3 separate regions of the Homo sapiens genome follow, and all the other regions are linked to region 2. The links are contacts of gene promoters, found by promoter capture Hi-C in blood cells and fetal thymus (Javierre and others, 2016). All regions are on one chromosome and are shown on one strand. The core of a region is centred on a gene start or on the middle of the fragment in contact, and the rest is flanking DNA. Distances in the headings are between cores, read along the strand shown. Region 1 has its middle 6.0 kb from the start of BHLHE23. Region 2 holds the start of SLCO4A1-AS1 (SLCO4A1 antisense RNA 1). Region 3 overlaps OSBPL2 (oxysterol binding protein like 2).

Region 1 (2,700 bases), core at 197-2,696, 350 kb after region 2:
ATCAACTTTCCCCCCAAGTGGAGGGGACTCTATCAAGTTCTCCTTAGTACCCCAACTACAGTTAAACTTCTGGGAATAAACAGCTGGGTCCACTTATCTCAAATTAAACCTGTCTCTTATAAAGCCCCACAGGCCAACGGAACACAAGAGACTGATCCCGTTTATTCCCGTGAGCCAGTCAGTGACCTCTGATTCCTGTTCCTAAGAAATGAGAGGGATGGGGGGCATAAATACCTGGATTGGCATTCTACTTTTAGGCACAAGTTGGAATCATGCAGAGAGTGATTTATTTACTGAGTAGGCACAGACTTTAGCCTGTCTACATAATCACATAAACGGTTGGGTATGTGGAGAATTGCCACTTTCCTCCACCTCTGGGTTGCCCTGGCATAGTCAACTGGCCAGCCTAAGTCTGTGGGGATTTTACGTTCCAGACCATTACCCAGGCTATGAGAGCTTTAGAGCTCACGTCTCTGCCATTGATGAGCTGTCAGTCAGTCCTCTATTGGCTTGGTTCCAACAGCTGCCCAGTTCTTGGAAAGCCTTTCTGTTTAGCTAGTTTACTTGGAATGATTTTATTTATTTTGCTTTGCTATTGTAGAATATATTGCGGTTGTACTCTTTGTGTAGGAATGCATGACAAGCTCACTCAACACTTTCTTCAGTTGGACATTTTTTTGTTTTTTTTTTGTTTTTTTTTGAGACGGAGTCTTTCTCTGTAGCCCAGGCTGGAGTGCAGTGGCATGATCTTGGCTCACTGCAACCTCCACCTTCTGGGTTCAAGTGATTCTCCTGCCTCAGCCTCTTGAGTAGCTGGGATTACAGGCGCACACCACCATGCCTAGCTAATTTTGTATTTTTAGTAGAGACGGGGTTTCTCCATGTTGGTCAGGCTGGTCTTGAACTCCTGACCTCAGATGATCCACCCGCCTCAGCCTTCCAAAGTGCTGGGATTACAGGTGTGAACCACCATGCCCATCCTGTTTTTCCTTCTTAAATGAGACAAGAGGGATAGAGAATGGGGCTGTGTGTTTCCCTTCCCAACATAAAAGACTGGAGGGAGCTGGAGTTGATACTTCCCTTCCTCCAGGTTGGTTAGACTCTGATTAAACTCTGGTACGTTAAAAATAGTTTCTCTTGAGGGCAGAGGAAGAACAGAATGCTCTGGCATATTTCGAAAGTGCTACTTCTCCCCTCCCCTTGTCCAAAGCACAAGGGGATTTTTCTCTGGTATTTACCTGGGGGATCTGGTAGAGTTTGTGCAGGTAAAACTCACAGAAGTGTGGCCTCCACCCTAAGACTGGGCCCTGGAGTTTTTAACTGTCAAGCTTGGCCACACAGCCTCCAGCAATCTGCCAGTGACAGTTTAGGTTTTCCCAACCTGGCAGTGGTTCCCAGGGAGGTGTCTGCTCTGCAGAATTGGGATTCTCTGCATCTGTCTGTCGTCTCTACAACTTTTTTGGGCAGTGGTTTGCCCTGTGACCTCATCATCTGTTGAATATAAGAAATATTATTGACTTTCAGTTTGCTCACGTTTTGTTCTTGTGAAAAGATTGATTGTTTCCAAGCTTCTCACACAGTGGACTAGAAATTGATTCATTTCATTTATCCTTTTTGGGTTTGTGGGGTTCTTGAATTTGTGACTTGATGATTTTGATTACTTTTAGAAATTTCCTGGCTATTAACTCTGGAGTATTGCTTCAACCTCATGTTCTCTCATCTCCTCTCTGGGATCCAGTTACAAATATATTGGTCCTTCTTCCTGAATCCTTTGTGTATCTTAACCTGTCACCTGTATTTTCCATTTGTATTATCCATACTTCATTCTGAATATTTTCTACTGACCTATTTTCCACTTCACTAATTCTCTCTTCAGCTGAATTTGCTATTAAAGCCACTAAGTTTATAATTTAAGTGATTTTATTTTTCAGTGCTAGAATTTTCATTTGGTTTTTCTAGGTTTTTTTTTTTTTTTTTGCTGAAATTCTAAATTCCACCTCTATTTCTGCAAATGCTGTAAGCACAGTTTTGTTCCAGTCTCTGTCTCGCGACTCCAGTGTCTGGACTGGTAGATCTTCTGCCTATGGTCTCTGCTGCTTTCATTCTTGCTGATTTGTTTTTTCAATTGTCTAGAATTTTTATTGTGGACTGAACATTGTATTTGTAAAATTATTTTGTAGAAATCATTTGAGGTCTATTTTATTTTCCTCCAGAGAGGGTTTATGTTTGCATCTGCGAGACATGGGGGCACTAGGGGTCCTGGATCATCTTACTCTAGTTTCAGGGATTGAAATCATTTCAAGATGATTACAGTTTAGGTTTTCCTACCCTGGCAGTGGTGCAAAAGGCCCTGAGTTGCTGCAAGAGCCGGTCTCCTTCTATCCACCCCTATGTCTAGGGTGCGGTTATTTGTTGTCCCAACTCAAAATGGTGGGGGTCGGGGGGATGTTCGCCAACTCCCCACTCTCAGGTGGGCTGAATCTCTCGCTGTCTGGCTCCTCAGTGGGCTGTGAGCTATCTGAAGCAGCAAATGCTTTGGGGGAAAAGTGAGCGTCCCGAAGGCTTTTTTCACTCTGGATCTTTGTCTTTCTGGGATTTTGTTTGTTTGCATTCCAAGCAAATATTTTTAACATTTTGCTCAGCTTTTGTAGTCACCATCAGAAAAGTGATGGGTCCAGATTAACTAGTCCCTAATAACCA
Region 2 (2,700 bases), core at 164-2,663:
CCCGCTGCCAGAGCAGGTGTGGAGAGCGCCACGGGGGCTGAGCGACTCTGTCCACAGGCCGGGAGAGTGGTGGTCCTGCCCTCTTTGTGGGACATGCTCCGTAGGTGGAAGGGTCCACGGTGGGCTCCACCCCCTAGCCACCTAGTCTTGGCTTCTGTGACTTGGTGCAGGAAGGGTTTGGACCTGGCTGTTCCATGAGCCAGGCACTGGTGCCTCAGGACCTCCTGGAACAGTGCAGCTGGGGGTTTCTCGGTGCCAGAGGCAGGCTGGCCTTCCCAGGCTGGGCAGGTCTGCAGAAAGTGGGGACCCCTCCTCAGAGCTGCTCCTCCTGCCAGCGTTCACAGAGTACCCTGGGCCATGGCAGAGGTGCCAGGCATGTGGGCCACCACCGCCAATCTACCGCGCTCTACCCTTCCAGGGTCCACTATCTGGACAGGAAGAGGGCATCAGATGAGGGCTCCCCTCCCTCCCCCACAGGCCCATCCTGGCCTGGCCCCTCTGGGCTGACCTCACAAGCCCACATTCCCACACTCAACAGCCCCCCAGAGGTCAGCTCTACTGCCCCTTGGAGAGCCTCCCCACCTGTCCCCCCAAATCTGTCCCCTCCCCACCTGTCCCCCCAAACCTGTCCCCTCTCCACCTGTCCCCTCACCTGTGCCCTCCTCACTTGTCAGCCCAGAAGCTAGATGCCAGCTAATCGCAATTTTTTACTGTTGGTGGCCACTCAGGCTTCGACAAATGTCCTTGTCACAGCCTGCAGGGACTCGGCAGAGGCCCCTGGGGGAGGAGGGGGTGTGGCTGCCCTGGAGGGGGGTCAGTGGAGGAGTCATTGGCTTCCCACTGGGGCAGGGGCCGCTGACCTTGGAGCACTCTGGGCTCTCCTCCTCCCCCCGCCCCGCCCCGCCCCCCCGCTCCCCCTTCCCCTTCCCCTTCCCCTTCCCCTTCCCCTCTGAGGCATCCCCGCTGTGGGCTCTGGACAGAGGTCCCTCCTAGGGCTCTATCAGCGCAACAGCTAAGCACTCAGGTGTGGTGTTGAGTGCTGCCATGCAGGCAGGAATTGATCCCTCTATGCCTCAGTTTCCCCACCTGTAAAGTGGACCCGGCTGATCCACCACCCTCTCCCACCACGGCCCCCTGCCTGAGTCCCTGGCTGAATCCCTCCCTCTCCCCAGGGTACCTGGTGGTGCCAGCGGGTGGTGGCGGCACCTTCCTGGGCGGCTTCTTTGTGAACAAGCTCAGGCTCCGGGGCTCCGCGGTCATCAAGTTCTGCCTGTTCTGCACCGTTGTCAGCCTGCTGGGCATCCTCGTCTTCTCACTGCACTGCCCCAGTGTGCCCATGGCGGGCGTCACAGCCAGCTACGGCGGGAGGTGAGGGCCAGATGGCACCTGGGTACGCGTCGGGGCCCCAAGCACCCGCGGTCCCTGGGCATGGAGGAGGAGTGGTGCAGCACTTGGGAGAGGTGGTTTTGAAAAGGGCTACGTCACAGGACAGCGGCAAGGGCAACACCCGCTCAGCAGGGCACCCGGCAGCATCCACGTGAAAAGGCACCATGCCAGCCCCCAGCAGTGCCTGCGCTTGGGTCCCGGCTGTGCCCCCGGGCAGTCATATGCCTCTCTGGGCCTCAGCACTCTGCTCTGTAGCTGTGTCAAATGGAACAACAGCCCTAGTGTTCGGGGTCCTTGAGGCTGGTCTCTCGGTGACATAAAAAGTGTCCCAGGATGTGCTCCTGGAGTTGCCATGTGCTGGGAGTGGGAGGGACACCTGCTGGTCAGGTGGCAATTAGGGAATATCCAAAATACACGTAGGTAGCCTGCACCTCGGCCCTGCCCTGCGGGCCCCGGGAGTGCACCTGCAGGTGCCGTGCAAGGCCGAGAAGCACAAAGCAGCCGTTGTGGCATTATCGGAACCTAAGAGTCATCAGGGTGGACGGGGTCACTACGCTGTCCTCACAACAGAGGCCCTGCCCACAAAGGAGTGGAGGAAGCTCATCCTGGGCCACTGCCAAGACATACTGTGAAGTGGGAAAAAGGAAGGAGTTGGACAATGGGCGCAGTGTGCTCTGATTCAAGTGAGAAGTGCAGATGTTTGTGACTGCCGAGGGGCGTGTACGTGCAGACGACCCCTGCAAATGCACAGCCGGCCTGTGGCTGGAGAACCGAGGACTGGGGTGGGGCTGGGGCCACGAGGCTGCCTTTGTGTACTTGGCGCTTTTTCTTTCCTAATGTTTGTATTTGATCCATATGAATGTGTTGCCTGTCCAAAAACAAATGAACTAGGGAAAGGGGCTGTGCATCAGGCGGACGGTGCTGGGGGGCATGGGTGTGCCTTCCTTGCGTGAGGAGGAAAAACCATTCTATCACCAGAAGGCAGTGCCCAGTGTGAGTGCCCAGCGTGCTGGGGGCGGTGCAAGCTTGGCAAGTTTGTAGACCCGAAATGCAGGCTGCATGGGGACGAGCCCCATGGCTGACCCTGTGCCTGCTGGGCGCCAGCATGGCTCTGGCCTGGACCCTACCACTCGCTTGTCCCCCCTCTGCAGCCTCCTGCCCGAAGGCCACCTGAACCTAACGGCTCCCTGCAACGCTGCCTGCAGCTGCCAGCCAGAACACTACAGCCCTGTGTGCGGCTCGGACGGCCTCATGTACTTCTCACTGTGCCACGCAGGGTGCCCTGCAGCCACGGAGACGAATGTGGACGGCCAG
Region 3 (2,700 bases), core at 177-2,676, 370 kb before region 2:
CTTCTCTTTGCCTATAATGTCTTCCTTTGTCCTCAGTTAAAAAAACCAATACTTGGTTTGCTTTAAATGACAGCACATGTGAACAGTGTAACTGCTTTTGCCTTGAAAAGGGAGAGGCATTATTTAGGCTCCAGTAACTTCTCTGATAAGGGCCCAGTGTGAGGATTTTGTGTTGAGTTAAACCCTCAAGATTTTGTTGGGAAGTGAAATTGACACGGGTGGCTGGATATCTTTAGGTTCCAGCATTCACATGACCACGTGATCAATAATTCTCCGTTGAAGTTGTTACGCTGGGCTGCATTTTAAAACCCACGTTACCGTGATGGTGCTGAGTTGGGGGAACACACTCCTGCACCCAGAACAGGGCTGCGTTTTCCTTTTGGGCTGAGCATCTTCTGACCCCCCTCCCTTGTATCCGGCAGGTGGTTCTACCCAGGCAATAACCCCTACACTGGGACCCCCGACTGGTTGTATGCAGGGGATTACTTTGAGCGGAATTTCTCCGACTGCCCAGATATCTACTGAGGGCCTGGAGGGGCCTGGGGCCCGGGACCGGAGGCTGACGAGGCTGGACTTCCTCGAGTGGCCACTGTGAGCCTCGTCACAGCAGAAACCAACTTTTCTAACGACTGAGTTCGCGGAGATAGCATCATCCCTGATCAAGGATGTAATTCTAATTAACTGTTGATTGCCAAACATTTCACTCTGCTGTGCCGTCTCTTCATAAAGCTTCACTTGGGATCATCGTCTTCATTAAGGTTTCAACAGGGAAATTCTTCACGGCGCCCTTTTATGTGGCAGAAATCAGCTGGGGCTTGTTTAGCTTCCAGCACACTCTCAGTCATAGCATGTGTAGCTAAAGGAAGTAATGGGAAGGGGTTCATGTTCTCTTTATAATGCAGTGGCAAAAGGTTCTGAAAGCCTTTTAAACTCGAACCAGTGGGGGAAAGATGGATCTTGAAGCTAATCCTGCAGAGAGTTTTATAGAGGCCAGGGATTGCCTTCTAAATTATGATAAAACAGAAGTGAAGAGTTTCAGAGCATCAGATTGAGTGAAAAGTTGTCAGATTCTGTATTTTTTAACAATCTTCAATAATGTAAAGATTACTTTTAAAATATTTAAGTTAAAACTACTTGAATAGTATTTTGCTGAAGAGCAAGATATGCATTAATCACCGGTTTTATACTGTCCAAAATGAAGCATCCCCGTGACAAACCAGAGTGGGCAGAAGCATCGAGAGCGTGACAGGAAATCCCAAGACTGCTTCCGCCTCAGAGGCGTCCCGGCTGCGATTCGCTGCCCTGTTGTCAGTGAGGCCTGGCTGTCACCGCACACCGCGTCCGTGTCTCCAGGGGGTTCCTTTCTTCTCACACGTCGCGTGTACCCATAGCACTCTTGTGTTTCTGTTTTTCCCAGTATGCATGTTTAAAATAGAAGTGACAAGAATCACATCCGGTTGTGTCCTGTGGGAGGGTCAGAGGCAGAATCTACTTACAGTGGTGTAATTAAAGTTATTTAACCAAAAATAGGTATGTGTCCATCTCAGCATTCACCTTTATCAAGTGACTGATTTTTTTTTCTTTTCTTTCCTTTTTTTTTTTTTTTTGAGACGGAGTTTCACTCTTGTTGCCCAGGCTGGAGTGCAATGGCATGATCTCGGCTCACCGCAACCTCCGCCTCCCGGGTTCAAGCGATTCTCCTGCCTCAGCCTCCCAAGTAGCTGGGATTACAGGCACGCGCCACCACACCTGGCTGATTTTGTATTTTTAGTAGACACGGGTTTTCACCATGTTGGTCAGGCTGGTCTCAAACTCCCGACCTCAAGTAGTCTGCCTGCCTCAACCTCCCAAAGTGCTGGGATTACAGGCGTGAGCCACTGCGCCTGGCCGTGACTGATTTTTTTTCATGTAGAATTGTCAACACGAGAGATCACAGTGGAGCACTTTGAAAGACCGTCGGTTGTGTGCACGCACGCACACACTCATGCACACGCTGACACGCGGTTGCATGGAGTCCAGGTTACTCAGGCCGGCACTTCTGAGTGACAGGTGCCACCTGCGTGTGTCTTGGCGTCCACATCACACCTGTGACGGAAGCACTTCTGGAAGTGAACACTCGTTTTGAAAGCTTGATTTTGTAGCTTTGGAAGCTGGAAGCGATGGTGTTTGGTGCCGAGTCCTGTGTCATCCTCGGGGCCTATGAGCTCCGTACCAGCCACTCAAAAGTGTCTGAACAGAACCGCTCCGTGACTGGTAGCTGGGTCTGAGGATTCAGGATTGTGGCGTTATTCAAAGAGGAGACTTTGAAATTCCCCGATGGCTGGAATGTGGAGCCCAGGTGCCTCTGGTGGAGGGTCATCTGCTTTTCCAGACTGTGGTTGTGAACCGGCTCCTTCTCCAAGAAAGGTTGCAAGCTGAGAACATCCAGAGGTGAGACTCAGACACATTGAAAGTGACTGCATTTAGGGAGGTTTAACGAGTTCTTACTGATCATTCCACTTGTTACTGGTTAAGATAATTTGCCCACGGGTTTGTTTCCAAGTCCTCTTCTAGGACCAGGCTCCTGGTATTTCAGGGGCTGGTTGGCTGCACAGACAGCCCCTCTTCTGCTGTCCTTGAGGACAGACACCAAACCAGAGGTGGAGGAAGAACGGTAGGAAGGCTGATGGCAAAAGCGGCTGTGTGTCGAGGTTATTTTAA

What was found. Contacts are between HindIII fragments. The CHiCAGO score rates a contact against its expected background, and 5 or more counts as called.
Region 1: a contact is called between a fragment that was not itself captured here and the fragment with the promoter of SLCO4A1-AS1 in region 2, in 1 of 17 cell types (non-activated CD4 T cells). The highest score is 5.4, in non-activated CD4 T cells.
Region 3: a contact is called between a fragment that was not itself captured here and the fragment with the promoter of SLCO4A1-AS1 in region 2, in 1 of 17 cell types (M0 macrophages). The highest score is 5.5, in M0 macrophages.

What each region holds. Positions count from the first base shown.
Region 1 is chr20:63,011,599-63,014,298 of GRCh38, forward strand. No RefSeq gene overlaps it. Among named protein-coding and RNA genes, the nearest start is that of BHLHE23, 6.0 kb to the left of the region's middle. RefSeq lists an enhancer at 1,340-1,489. The HindIII fragment of the contact is 240 bases long and covers 1,327-1,566 here.
Region 2 is chr20:62,665,208-62,667,907 of GRCh38, forward strand. It overlaps SLCO4A1-AS1 (SLCO4A1 antisense RNA 1), which reads right to left and starts at 1,414. Exons shown (of 4, transcript NR_024470.1): 1 at 1,178-1,414; 2 at 653-803; 3 at 1-290. It overlaps SLCO4A1 (solute carrier organic anion transporter family member 4A1), which reads left to right. Exons shown (of 12, transcript NM_016354.4): 7 at 1,173-1,368; 8 at 2,538-2,700. The HindIII fragment of the contact is 12,915 bases long and covers 1-2,409 here.
Region 3 is chr20:62,293,363-62,296,062 of GRCh38, forward strand. OSBPL2 (oxysterol binding protein like 2) reads left to right here. Exons shown (of 14, transcript NM_144498.4): 14 at 423-2,700. The coding sequence ends at 525. Among named protein-coding and RNA genes, the nearest start is that of ADRM1, 8.3 kb to the right of the region's middle. The HindIII fragment of the contact is 1,399 bases long and covers 728-2,126 here.